Linked DNA regions of Homo sapiens: all the other regions are linked to region 2. The links are contacts of gene promoters, found by promoter capture Hi-C in blood cells and fetal thymus (Javierre and others, 2016). All regions are on one chromosome and are shown on one strand. The core of a region is centred on a gene start or on the middle of the fragment in contact, and the rest is flanking DNA. Distances in the headings are between cores, read along the strand shown. Region 1 overlaps NKD1 (NKD inhibitor of Wnt signaling pathway 1). Region 2 holds the start of SNX20 (sorting nexin 20). Region 3 overlaps CYLD (CYLD lysine 63 deubiquitinase). Region 4 overlaps CYLD (CYLD lysine 63 deubiquitinase).

The links. Contacts are between HindIII fragments. The CHiCAGO score rates a contact against its expected background, and 5 or more counts as called.
Region 1: a fragment that was not itself captured here is called in contact with the fragment with the promoter of SNX20 in region 2 in 3 of 17 cell types (total CD8 T cells, non-activated CD4 T cells and naive B cells); the score reaches 6.0 in total CD8 T cells.
Region 3: a contact is called between a fragment that was not itself captured here and the fragment with the promoter of SNX20 in region 2, in 6 of 17 cell types (neutrophils, activated CD4 T cells, non-activated CD4 T cells and 3 more). The highest score is 12.2, in neutrophils.
Region 4: a fragment that was not itself captured here is called in contact with the fragment with the promoter of SNX20 in region 2 in 5 of 17 cell types (activated CD4 T cells, non-activated CD4 T cells, total CD4 T cells and 2 more); the score reaches 8.6 in activated CD4 T cells.

What each region holds. Positions count from the first base shown.
Region 1 is chr16:50,558,245-50,561,323 of GRCh38, forward strand. All of the region lies in intron 3 of NKD1 (NKD inhibitor of Wnt signaling pathway 1), which reads left to right. Among named protein-coding and RNA genes, the nearest start is that of NKD1, 11 kb to the left of the region's middle. The HindIII fragment of the contact is 5,014 bases long and covers 1-3,079 here.
Region 2 is chr16:50,679,533-50,682,711 of GRCh38, forward strand. SNX20 (sorting nexin 20) reads right to left here and starts at 1,780. Exons shown (of 4, transcript NM_182854.4): 1 at 1,658-1,780. The HindIII fragment of the contact is 15,976 bases long and covers 1-3,179 here.
Region 3 is chr16:50,797,027-50,800,247 of GRCh38, forward strand. CYLD (CYLD lysine 63 deubiquitinase) reads left to right here. Exons shown (of 19, transcript NM_001378743.1): 19 at 1-3,221. The region is part of intron 2 of CYLD-AS2 (CYLD antisense RNA 2); the gene reads right to left. Among named protein-coding and RNA genes, the nearest start is that of CYLD-AS2, 4.7 kb to the right of the region's middle. The HindIII fragment of the contact is 3,258 bases long and covers 1-2,995 here.
Region 4 is chr16:50,780,558-50,783,384 of GRCh38, forward strand. CYLD (CYLD lysine 63 deubiquitinase) reads left to right here. Exons shown (of 19, transcript NM_001378743.1): 10 at 689-854; 11 at 1,768-1,909. Among named protein-coding and RNA genes, the nearest start is that of CYLD-AS2, 21 kb to the right of the region's middle. The HindIII fragment of the contact is 1,122 bases long and covers 973-2,094 here.

The sequences.
Region 1 (3,079 bases), core at 527-3,026, 120 kb before region 2:
GTGTTTGCTGATTTAGACCTTTAAGATTCTGATGGTGGTGGTGGTAGAGAAGCAGTATGTTAGTGATAAAAGGACACACGAGTGAGTATCATATGGACTCAACATTGTGCCTAATACTTTCCATGCATTCTCTTGTAGAATCCTCACAACTGCCTTAGGTATTATTCCGCTATCGCATAGATGAGGAGGCAGGCCCAGCAAATTAGAGTCACTAGCCCAGCCAGGGAGAGCTGGATGCAGGCTGCATCCAAGGCAGAGAGTGCAGGCCAAGCAAAGGCTCATTGCCAGGAAGCTGTGCACAGTGTATTTCAGTCTGGTGGGAGAGCAATGTGGGAGGCACAGGAAGGGTAAGTAAAGATGTGGGCTGGGATGGGAGGCCGAGGTTGGTGGAGGCCGAGGTTGGTGGATCACCTGAGGTCAGGAGTTTGAGACCAGCCTGGCCAACATGACGAAACCCCGTCTCTGCTAAAAATACAAAAAAAAAAAAAAAAAGAAAGAAAAGAAAGAAAAAAAAAATAGCCGGGCATGGTGGCAGGCACCTGTAATCCCAGCTACTTGGGAGGCTGAAGCAGGAGAATTCCTTGAACCCGGGAGATGGAGGTTGCAGTGAGCCAAGATCGTGCCATTGCACTCCAGCCTGGGTGACAAGAGTGAAACTCTGTCTCAAACAAACAAACAAACAAACAAACAACAAAACAAAGATGTGGGCTGGGAGACTTTATGCTGAAGACCAGCATGTGCCCATAGAAGGTGCCAGAGGTGTGCTTAGAACTTGCAGAATCAGACTTCCTGGGTCTGAGTCCCAGCTGCACTTCTCCCCAGCTCGGTGGCCTTGGGCCAAGTGATGGCTCATCTCTGATTCTCAGTTTTCACATCTGTGGAATGGGTAGAGTAATGGTTCCTACCTCATTGGGTTGTTTTAAGGGTAGAAATGGGTTCATTTCAGCAAGTTAAAGAATAAAGGAGATGTCACCCCTTCTTTTGCAGCTTGCCAGTGTTGTTTGCTAGTGATCACCTGGATGTGTGCTCAGTGTGGTACCAGTGTGCTAAGTGCAGTGAAGGAAAAGGATGGGGAAGGAGAATAACGGAGGATTCTACTTCAGATTAGGGAGTGATGCGTAAGTCGTTAAGACCCAAAGAATAAATAGGAAATAGCTAGGTGGGGAAAGGTTTATTAAAAATATTCCAGGCAGAAGGCACGGGATGTGCAAAGGGCAAGAGGCATGCAGGGTTGGTGCACAGAGAAAGTGTTCAGCCTCCTTCTCGGTGTCTGACTTGGAACCACATTCCAGTCTCTGAGGTGTTAGAGCAGAACTATGTGGTGCAGCAGCAGGGAGTGGGCAGTGCCTGCTGGGCTGGGTGGTACCACTGTATGTTGCATCCCGTCATGAGGCCTTGTCTCCTTGCCGCAAGTCTTCCATGAAGTGTTACTGGTGTCTGTGGACTCCAGCTTTCTGGTCAGGTTGGAAGAGGTAGGGAGGAGAACCTCTCAGTCACAAGAAATAGTGTCACCCTGGAGCGGATTGGCTGGCCTGCTGGGCTGCCCAAGCCTTCTGGCCTTGAGCATAGAGCTGGGGTCCTGAGGAGGGGAGAGGCAGAGCATAAAAGGACCCTGTTAGCAGGATGGGGCTGTCTTCCCTCAGGCCACAGCCTCCCTAATGGGCTCAGGCCGGAGGATGTTTTTCTAACTTCAGAAGGCTGCGTGGGCTGGTGGGCCCCTCACTCAGAGGCCTCGGCTTGCGGTGGCTCCAGTGAGTGGGTTTGGGGGTGCTGGTGTGTGGTGCCATGCCCATTCCATGCCTGGTTTCCAGAGGGAGCCTTGTTCCAGGACAGTTTTTGACCCTGACTTTGTTGTTTTACCCTTCTTTCCCCCTTCAAAGGCAAAAAGATGATTGAAGAGAACTACTATAATCCAGGAACAAAGTTGCCTTTTCAGCGGGCACTGGGGACTTTCTCTGCTTCCTCCCTGCCCTGGAAAGTCCAAAGGCACCCACTGCCTCAGCTGGTCCTGGGCACGTGCCTGCTTTCTCAGTGGCTGCAGGCTCAGTGTGCCCGCGAGCTGCCCACTGTGTGCATAGCCCCGTGCTGAGTCTGGGAGCTGCAGCCCGAGGAGGAGGTGGTAACAGCGTAGCTGCTGCTTGCTGCGTGTCTGCTGTGTGCCAGGCTCTGGGCCAAGCACTGTTCATAGTGCTGGATTCTCAGAGCACTGTTATGAGGCCGCTGTTATTATTATGCCCATCTTACCCATAGGGAAACTGAGGCTTTAAAGAAGTCAACCATATTGCCCAAGGTCACTTAACTTGGAAGTGGAATCTTGCTTCAGCAAGATTCAAATTCAGATCACTCAGTGTGATTTTAGAGCCATCTTAAATCAGTTTAGGCGAGTTTTTTTTTTTTTTTCAACTGTATGTCTCAGCCCCATTCATGGTTCATGACATCAATTTAGTGACCAAAATGAAATAGAGTAAAAATATGAGAAAACATTATATATAGTAAGAGTAAATATTGTTTTGTGTAATTTTTTGTTCTAGTTAAAAAAAATGTATACACACACTTTACACACACCTATACCCAAACCCATCTATCTATCTATCTATCTATCTATCTATCTATCTATCTACAGCAGAGGCATATTGTAAAATATAATTCTTACTATAGGTCATAATCAGAGTATTAGAAAAACGCTGGTGTGGGTCACTGGTGCAGGCCCTGAGCCTGAATGCCTGGTTTTGAGCCCTGGCTCTACTTCTCACTAGCAGTGTGACCTAGGGCAACTTTCCTGACCTCTCTGTGCTTTCTGAGCTGTTTGGTTTGTTGACTTTTGGGCCTGGGTCAGTGCTCCCAGGGATGCTGTGGGTGCTTGCTGCTGGCTCACTCCCTTTGCTTAGGGAATGAAGAGGATGAGCAGTCCCATGGAGGGGGGGCCCATGGCTTCTCCCCTGAGAAGCCAACAGCAGCAGCTTCATCCCAGGAGAAACACAGACATGGCTCAGTCATCAGGGGTTGGACACAATGCTGCGCTGGGAACCCTGAGCCTGGGGGTGCCTCCAGCTTAGCTATGAGGTATCTATTATGACCT
Region 2 (3,179 bases), core at 530-3,029:
GCTGGCCCAGGGCTGCACGTTCTTGAGCATGCCGTCACGGGCACCTCTCGCTTGTCTCTTGTGCCTGTCAGGGAGTCAGGAGACATCGCCTTCCATCCTGACCAACCGTGTGTCCTTAAGCAAGTGCTTTAATATCTCTAGGCTTCAGTTTCCCTACCTGATAAATGTGGCTACAAGCCCCGTCCTGTTGATAAGATGATGGATGACTAGGGGTGGGTTCCCTACATTCTGACTGGTGCCTAAGTGAGACAGTGGATGGTTTACGTGATTCTTGGTGGCTGGGATTCTTGGGGGCCCAGGGCACTCCTATGCTCAGCACTTCTGTAAAATGGGTGATGGCGAGTGGCCTTGGCCTCAGGGGCCCCAGCCTTTGCAGATCTGCTTTCATGACCAGGCAGCTGGCTCCAGGTCAGAAGCAGGGCACTATTGGCCCAGAGACCCTGTAAGACCCTAGAAATGATGCCTCGGCTTGACACTCCAGTAAAGACTGAGAAAGCTGATTATAAAACCAGGCCTTAGAATAAAATCAAATTCAGCAGCCACAGTCAGCTCCCTTATGGTTGTCTCTTACAGGTTTCATTGGGAGTCACCCATTTAAAGAGGAGGGGGAAGGAAAGAGTTGTGCACTGGTGTATCCATGGGGCCTTGGGTAGCTTCCCATCCCTCTCCAGGCCTCAGTTTCCTCATCTGTGAAATGGGAAAGCAATCCTGTCACTCTAAAAGCTCTCTGGGGATAGCCACATAGACGGTTCCATGGCCCTTTCCTTCCCTCTCCTCACCCTCTGTAGCAAAGATTTCTTGACTTTATAACAAAATACTAAAAGTGTTGTTGCTGTTGGCCTGGGGGCCTGTAGTTGGCCCAGGGGACAGAGCAGCTTCCCAGCCTCCTCTGCCTTCCAGCCGTGTGTGCACAGACAGTCATTCTCCTCCTCCTGTCCCCAGGTGTCCTAACCACCCCCTCTCCAAGAGCTGACTGCCAAGTCCAGTCCTTCTTCTGCTGGGCACACAGAGGCCACACTATCTTTCTGAGGGCCTGCGGAGGACTTTTCATGGGGGATGAGCCTCTAGGGGGTGAAATAAAGCACATGGCCCACGCTGGGAGACAGAGATCCCAGGATGTTGGATGTGTGGCTGCCTCTCTTGGGGAAAGGGTGGGTACCCTCCAACAACTGGACGCTCACCTGAGAAGCCTTGCCAAAGCCAGGGGCTCCCAACCCAGTGTGTGTAAGAATCCCCTGGTGGGGTGGGGGTGGGATCCCAGGGGCTTGTCCAAGAGCAGGTTTCCTGGCTGCTAACATAGGAAGGTGCCATTGAACAGGCCTGGATTCTGCATTTTCCATGAGTCCTCTAAGGCTGTGCTGAGGCAGGGGTTCCCTGACACTGTTCTTTTGAGAAACACAGGTGTGGTGACTTATTCTCCAGGCCCAAGATGGGTTGTACAAGCGCCTAGCATTTCAAAAGGAATGGAGGTGATGGAAGGTCCAGGAGCTGTCCCTTCCTCTGCCTCAGTGTGCTAAGGAGAGCTCCAGACACAGTGGCTGTCACTAACTCTTCCCCCTCCCACCCTGCCCCCAGCAGGTGCCAGGCAGGGCCCCAGGAGAAGGGGACTCAGGCCACAGCAGGCAGAGGACAGCTGAGCTTGGGATCAAATACTGACCTCCAGTCTCCAGGGCTGTGTGTGTCCAGGGGTCCGGGAGGAGTGTCATATGGCCCCTTCGAGCTCTTGGTTCTCAGCTCCGGCGACAAGCCGAGGGGCTGCCACTTTCTAAGTTCCCCGTTTGAAAACAGGAAACAGGCTGTGTGACCTGCTTCTGATCGCCCCAGCCCATTGGCTGGTGAAACATGGTATATTGAACTCAACTGCCAGCCTGCCAGCTGTACCCACCTCTTCTTCCGGGTAGCGCAGGGAAGGGCAAGGCGGTGTGGGGCCAGCCCTGTGGGATTTAGCTCAGCCTCACTTTCCCTGCCGCCTTGCAGAGGTCTGGCTGTCCTTCGAGTCCCCGTTGATCTCTGGAATTCAGGCATTAGCTCCCAGAGCCCTTTAACATTCATTATTCTACTCTATGAGCTAGGCATGATGGGGGCCGTCATGCCCCTTGAACAGATGGGAAAACCGAGGCTTGGATCACAGAGCTGGTGGGACACAGAGCCAGTGACTGACATAGAAGAGCAGTGGGGTAGAATTACAGTTCCATCTGGTGCCTTTTCTCTGAGCAAAGCTGTATCCATCACCACCAACAGAAAGTCCCAGGGAAGCGAAACCCCAGGGCAGTGTGGTGTGATTCATGCCCACCCATCTTTGTGGCCTTGAAGGCAAGAAACAGAAATCAGACAAAAAAAAAAAAAATAGAACTTTGCTGGCTCGCCCAGAAGTTTGCCATGTGTTTTTTTTTGAGCCATGATTCCCTTCCTCCCTATTAGAGGCAGTCACAGTCCTGATTCAGATGGGGGTTACTTCTTGGCTTTTCCTTAGAAATTTACCACCTATGAGATCCCCAAACAATTCAGTTTCATTTTACTCATCTGTGAATCTTATATAAATTGAACCATGCATACTGTGTGTATTCTCCAGTGCCTTGCTTCTTTCATGCAACATTTATGGGTATAAGATTCACTGATGCATTTCTGTGTAGATACTTTTTTTCATTTCCATTGTTGTGTTGCTACATTATTATTATTATTTATTTTACTTTAAGTTCTGGGATACCAGTGTAGAACCTGCAGGTTTGTTACATAGGTATATATGTGCCGTGGTGGTTTGCTGTACCTATCAACCCATCATCTAGGTTTTAAGCCCTGCATGCATTAGGTATTTGTCTTAATGCTCTCCTTCCCCCTGGCCCCCACCCCTGACAGGCCCCAGCGTGTGATGTTCCCCTCCCTGTGTCCATGTGTTCTCACTGTTCAACTCCCACTTATGAGTGAGAACATGCTGTGTTTGGTTTTCTGTTGCTTCATTATTTAAATACATCACCATTTGTCATTTTTTGTTTTGTCTTTTGATGCACACTTGGGTTGTTCCTAGGGTGGCCATCATGATCAATGCCACTGATGATATTCTTACACATTTATCCAAGTCCATGTACTTATCTGAGGTGAAATTGCTGGGTCTCAGAGTATAGATAGCTTCAACTGTGCTAGATTACGCCAAATATTTTCCACAGTGGCTGTGCCATTTT
Region 3 (3,221 bases), core at 117-2,616, 120 kb after region 2:
CTTGCATGTCTACAATCTGCTCAGTTTTTCTGTGTTTCTGCAATAGTGGTCAGAAAAATACTTAAATTCCCTTAATGGTGTTGTTTTCTATTTGTTCTGGTTTTGAGATAAATGAGTGATTCTGTCCCCAAATGTCCATTTTTGAAGTGATTTTCCTGGAGGATTAGGGTATTTAGCAGTTGAAGCTCTTCATTCATAGTAGTTACTGTCAGCTAACAGGTTTTTTAAGGCTTTTAACTATTAATATTTTATGGAATGGGGCAAAGTAAATTGATGAAAGAATTGGAGTGATAATAGTCCTTTACAAACATACAGTCCATAAGAAAATGAATTTGGCATATAGAATTATTACAATTTCCTGGGAGAGATGGATATTTAAACCTCTATTATTTTAGACAAGACTGTCTAGAACTTAAGTTTGATCTGTCAGCCAGTACTCCCATTAAATTCAGTGTAGTTTCACTTGATAGAATCAGATATGTTATCGAAATGTTAGCAGCAGCTTCATCCTCCTTCTGATTAAAGTAAGTAGAAATGGGATGTTTTGTTTAATAACAGCCATAGTGTGTGTTTAGACCACAGCGGATGTTGTAGACCAGGACCATAGATGATACATGTCAGTGCTGTGGAATGTGCATTCTCTGAGTGTTGTTTTGTGGTATCATTGTCTTTCCTGAATGACTTTCTAACTGTGCAGAAAGGCAGAAAAGTCATCATATGTATATGTCATATGACTTTATAAAATATTTAATGTGACAAAAAGTGGAAAGAATCTTTACAAACCCTGCAATTACTTTTTTAAAGGCACTTTTACTCTTTGGTTTTATCATTCCATTTTGCTAATATTTACTAGCTTTATAAATTACAGTAAGGTACAAAAACTCATCTTGTAATATTTTCATTTTTGAAGTGAAAAAGTACATATATTTTGCACAAGGTTTTATACTGCTAAGTGCTTGGTTGGGGTGGTGAGATGATGATTAGATCAGGGGTGAGGCTGAGAGACTCTGGGTTTAGGGCTAGCCCTGCCTCCATCTCCCTTGGGTAAAATGAAGGGTGTGGGGTAAAAGATGCATAAGGCCTTTTCTAGCTCTGACAGCCTAGAAGTCCAATCACCCTGTAATAAATATGTGTTGAATGAAGAAATGGGTGAATGAGCTTGTCAATGTGATTTTAAAAAATTGACTACCTGGAGGAATGATTAGGAATCTAAATGAAGCCAGCCCTCGGTATCTGCAGGTTTCTCATCCATGGATTCAACCAACTGCAAATGGAAAATACGATTTTTTTTAAAAAAAGGATGGTTACATCCGTATTGAACATGTACAGACTTTTTTCTTGTCATTATTCTCTGAACAATACAAGAACTCTTTATGTAGCATTTACATTTATTAGGTATTATAAGTAATCTAGAGATTATTTAATTAAAATATACAGGAGGATGTGTGTCAGTTATATGCAAATTCTGTACCATTTTGTATCAGGGAATTGAGCATCTTCAGATGTTGGTATCTGCAGGGATCCTGGAACCAAACCCCTGCAGATACTAAGGGCTGACGATCTAGGTAAGACTGGATTTAACAGTTGGAAAAAAAAAAAAAAAAGGAGAGAGAAGACAGTTCCTTTCCTGTAGAAATTAAAACAAAATACAAATTGAGGAAGCTCTGCTACCCAGGCTGTCATGGTAGAGAACTTGAAGAAGACCTGTTTGGATGGACACCTGGTTTCAAAAGTCAGGTGTGGAGACTGTTAAATGGGAGGGCCTCATCCATAAATGATTTCTGGCAACGTCTTCTTCAGGTGGAGCTTGACGTCTTTTTAATGTTACTTGGGGAGGGAGTGCTCATTAAGGGATGCCAGGGCCAGCTCTGGTGGTTCCTGGGGAGGCTGCGTCCTTCCCTGCTTCTGCATGTCATGAGGCAGCAGGAAGGTTTCCCCTGCACCTGTCTGTCCTGGCTCCCTCTGGGTAGCCCCCTACTGTTCTGTGCTTCAGCACAGCCTGGTTTGTCAAGAGGCACATAGTTGGGGCTGGGCTGCATGGCACAGGGGCTTATGTGCCTGCTGGTTATTTAATTTTCAGCCTTAAGTTTTCTTTAATATTTTCCTGTTGGCTATTTAAAGGTTTTGGTTATCTTTTATTCCTTATCTACAATCAAGATGACAATGTAATTGAATTATCTTATTTATAACACGGTTCGTGATTCATGATTCATGATTACAAGTAGAAAATATGTCATGTTCCTCACCTCCAAATAAATATGTGTGTGTCTGTGTGTGTGTATATATGTATGTGGCGGAGAGGGAGAGAGTGGGGAAGGAGAGCAGTGTTATCATACATAGAGAGGCTAAATGTGTCCCATCCCTCACTGTCAGCTTTATAAAGGAGTTTGACTCCATCCACAGAAGAATGTTTTATAAGACTAGGAAAACACGTTGAAAACTAGGATAAACAGCAACAAAAATCAACTAAATATGTTGTTACTGTTGCTAAGGATTTTCTCCTTAGAATAATTTAGGATTTTTAAAAATTTCTGTTTGCCAAATGCTGTAGATAAATGGCCAGATTCTTCCTATCCCTAGGATTCCTTTATTATTTTTTTTCACAGATTTTGAGAACAAGGGGGAGAGATAGTATGGAAGATTAAGATTCCATTAATCTTATAGAACTGTGTTGTCACCCAAATTCCTGCTTGTTTGAACATGGCATCTTCATAGATTCAGGATTCACTACCCTCTATAGCTGGATCTTGAAAATTATCTGGCCAGATAATTTTGCATCTGCTTGGATGATTGTAGACTGAGATGTGAGTGGAGGATAAAGTATTAGACTTTTGCTGAGTAACTGCCAACCAAGAAGTATTTATCGGACACTTACTAGGTGCCTAGGATTGTATCAGAGGGAATATGAAATGTGTCCCTGCCCTACCTAGTTTTAACGACAGAATATCTATTAAAGGCTACTTAGCTGAAGGGTAAGGGTGACAGGTCTAGGGGAAGCTTTGGGAGGTGGTGTGCTGTGACAGAAAAAGTGGCAGAGTAGGGACGAGAGACCTGCATTCTAGCCCTGTTTCTGTCACTTGCTCTGTACACTTAGACAACAGCTTGACCTCTTGAGCTTTAGTTTCCTCCTCTGCATAATGAGAGGGTTAGACTACTGAATTGTATGGGAAAAAAATACAAATTCCTGGGTCCTAGGCCATGCCTGCTGAATCCGACTGTTC
Region 4 (2,827 bases), core at 284-2,783, 100 kb after region 2:
ACCCAGACTGGAGTGCAGTAGCACGGTCAGGGCTCACTGCAGCCTCGACCTCCTGGGCTCAAGCTATTCTCCTGCCTCAGTCACCTGAGTAGCTGGAATTACAGACATGTACCATCATGCTTGGTAATTTTTTGTATTTTTAGTAGAGACAGGGTTTTGCCATGTTGCCCAGGCTGGTCTCAAACTCCTGGACTCAAGTGATCTGCCCGCCTTGGCCTCCTAAAGTGCTAGGATTATGGGCATGAGCCACCACACCTGGCCAATTTAAATATATTTCTTTTTTTTTTTTTCTTGTTTGTTTCCATGCTAGTGAATACTATCTTATGGGGCATGGTGGGGAGGCAAGAATGAGGGTTAAAATAAATAGCCTTCTCCTTCCCTGCCTGTTTTAATGCTTGTAGAAATGGTGCGGGAAAGCCCGTTTAACCAGGGGAGGTTGAAGCATATATTCTGAAAGGAAATACAAGAAGGACTTCATGCTGGATTAAGGAAGTCACTTCTTAAATCAGTAGCTGTGGGCTGAAGCACTGATTACTCAACTCCTTTTTCTTGATGAGGTTCTCAGTACAGGTGCGAAGAGGGAGTGGTGAGAAAGGGTATACTAGAAACAGGTCTTAGAAACCTTAGTTCTTTGTATACTATCTCTGTAAGGCACGGTATAATGCATATTGAAGCATTTCTTTTTCAGGAAGATGAGTGTGCAGGCTGTACGGATGGAACCTTCAGAGGCACTCGGTATTTCACCTGTGCCCTGAAGAAGGCGCTGTTTGTGAAACTGAAGAGCTGCAGGCCTGACTCTAGGTTTGCATCATTGCAGCCGGTTTCCAATCAGATTGAGCGCTGTAACTCTTTAGGTATTTGGATGCTTTTTGTTTACTTAACAACCTGGAATGACTCTAATTCTAATCTCATATCATGTTATATTAGGTGATGGTGACAGTGTTTTAATATATTTCTTGCCAACGCTCATTAAGCTTTAAATCAGTAAAAATGTTGCATGGTGTATAAGAAAGTTGTTTTAAGAGGGGACATCTTAAAAAAGTATTAGGACGTGCGTTTGGGACTTATAAAGTGAATAATAGTGTGGTTTGTTTTTCTCTTCCTGTTGATGACAGACATTTAGTTTTCAGCAATACTAGTGGTAGAAATTGAAATGTAACCTTCTTTTTTTTTTTTACTGACTTCCCTCACAGTGTCTTGTTTACAGCAGTGAGTGTATCTTACAAAGAAATCAGCATTTTAGTGTAAGAAGTAGATTTCAACTGATTGCTGGAGGACAGCTCTCCTCATCATGTGTAATTGGTGGCAGTTTCCTGGTGCTGTTCCTTTCCACTTCTACATAATAGTGGAAAAGCATCTTGGGGCTTCAGCAGGTGCAAACAGGAAAGCCATCTTTATGAAAAACACTCTTATTATGTTGAAATAGTACTTTGGAATTTTCATTTTCTTTTCAAACTTGAAAGTGAAGCAACTTCAGATAAATAGTGAAATATTTGGGAAACATATTTTACTTGACAGATGCTTTTTACACATAATACTCTAAAGTGTGTTTTTAAATCTTGGAGGAAATGAAGTTGAAAATGAACAATAGCAATTTTTATAAGCCAAGTCAAATAGCAGTTAACCAAAGCCTACTTTCCACTTAAAGAAAAAATTTTGCATCAAAATACAAAAACATTTTAAAATGAAAAAATATTTATGGGAATACATATTGTAATAGTTTAAAAGAATTCTTTTCATTTACTTTTTTTAAAAAAATCTTTTCAGCATTTGGAGGCTACTTAAGTGAAGTAGTAGAAGAAAATACTCCACCAAAAATGGAAAAAGAAGGCTTGGAGATAATGATTGGGAAGAAGAAAGGCATCCAGGGTCATTACAATTCTTGTTACTTAGACTCAACCTTATTCTGGTAAGTTTAAAAAGAATGCAATAGGTATAGATAGTGCCATGAGGCAGGGACACATACCGGTGTGTGTGTGTGTGTGCGTGTGAGTGTGTGTGAAAGAAACTGCCATCTGCCTCTGAGTAGAGAAACTGGATGACTGTGGGTCAGGATTGAAAGGGAGATTTGCTTTTTATGACATACTCCTTTTAAGCTTTTGAATGTTGTCTCATGTTTCTGTGTCCAGAAAGGTGAATGATATTGGTACAATGGAATAGATATACAGAGGGTATCTGGGAAATCTTTGTGCATGTCTCAAACAACATAACTTGCAGTAAAGCCATTGGCTGTTATGTGCTGTATTTCTTTTAGTAGGTAAAGGCAGTCATAAAACTACTGTCTTTAAAAAAACGATTTTCAGTAGCAGCACTGCTGCCCTCATATATGCAATTTTTTCCAAAGTGGAACAACTTAAGATTTTTTTTTTTTTTTTTTTTTTTTTTGAGACAGAGTCTCACTCTGTCCCCCAGGCTGGAATGCAGCGGCACAATCTGGGCTCATTGCAACCTCTGCCTCCCAGGTTCAAGCGATTCTCTTGACTCAGCCTCCTGAGTAGCTGGGATTACAGGTGTGAACCACCACTTCTGGCTAACTTTCTTTTTTGTATTTTCAGTAGAGACGGGGGTTTCACCACGTTGGCCAGGCTGGTCTCGAACGTCTCACCTCAAATGATCTACCCGCCTTGGCCTCCCAAAGTGCTTGGGATTACGGGCATGAGCCACCACGCCCAGCCTTAACATTGCAAGGATCTTTAAGCTCTGGAAATTGAACCAAGAATCTTTAGGCTCTGAGGATTGTAGACTGGGCTAAATTGAGAGTAGCCTGCCAGTTCTGTAGCCATATGATAAGAATTAGGAAGTTAATATGGGATGTTAACATTTTTAA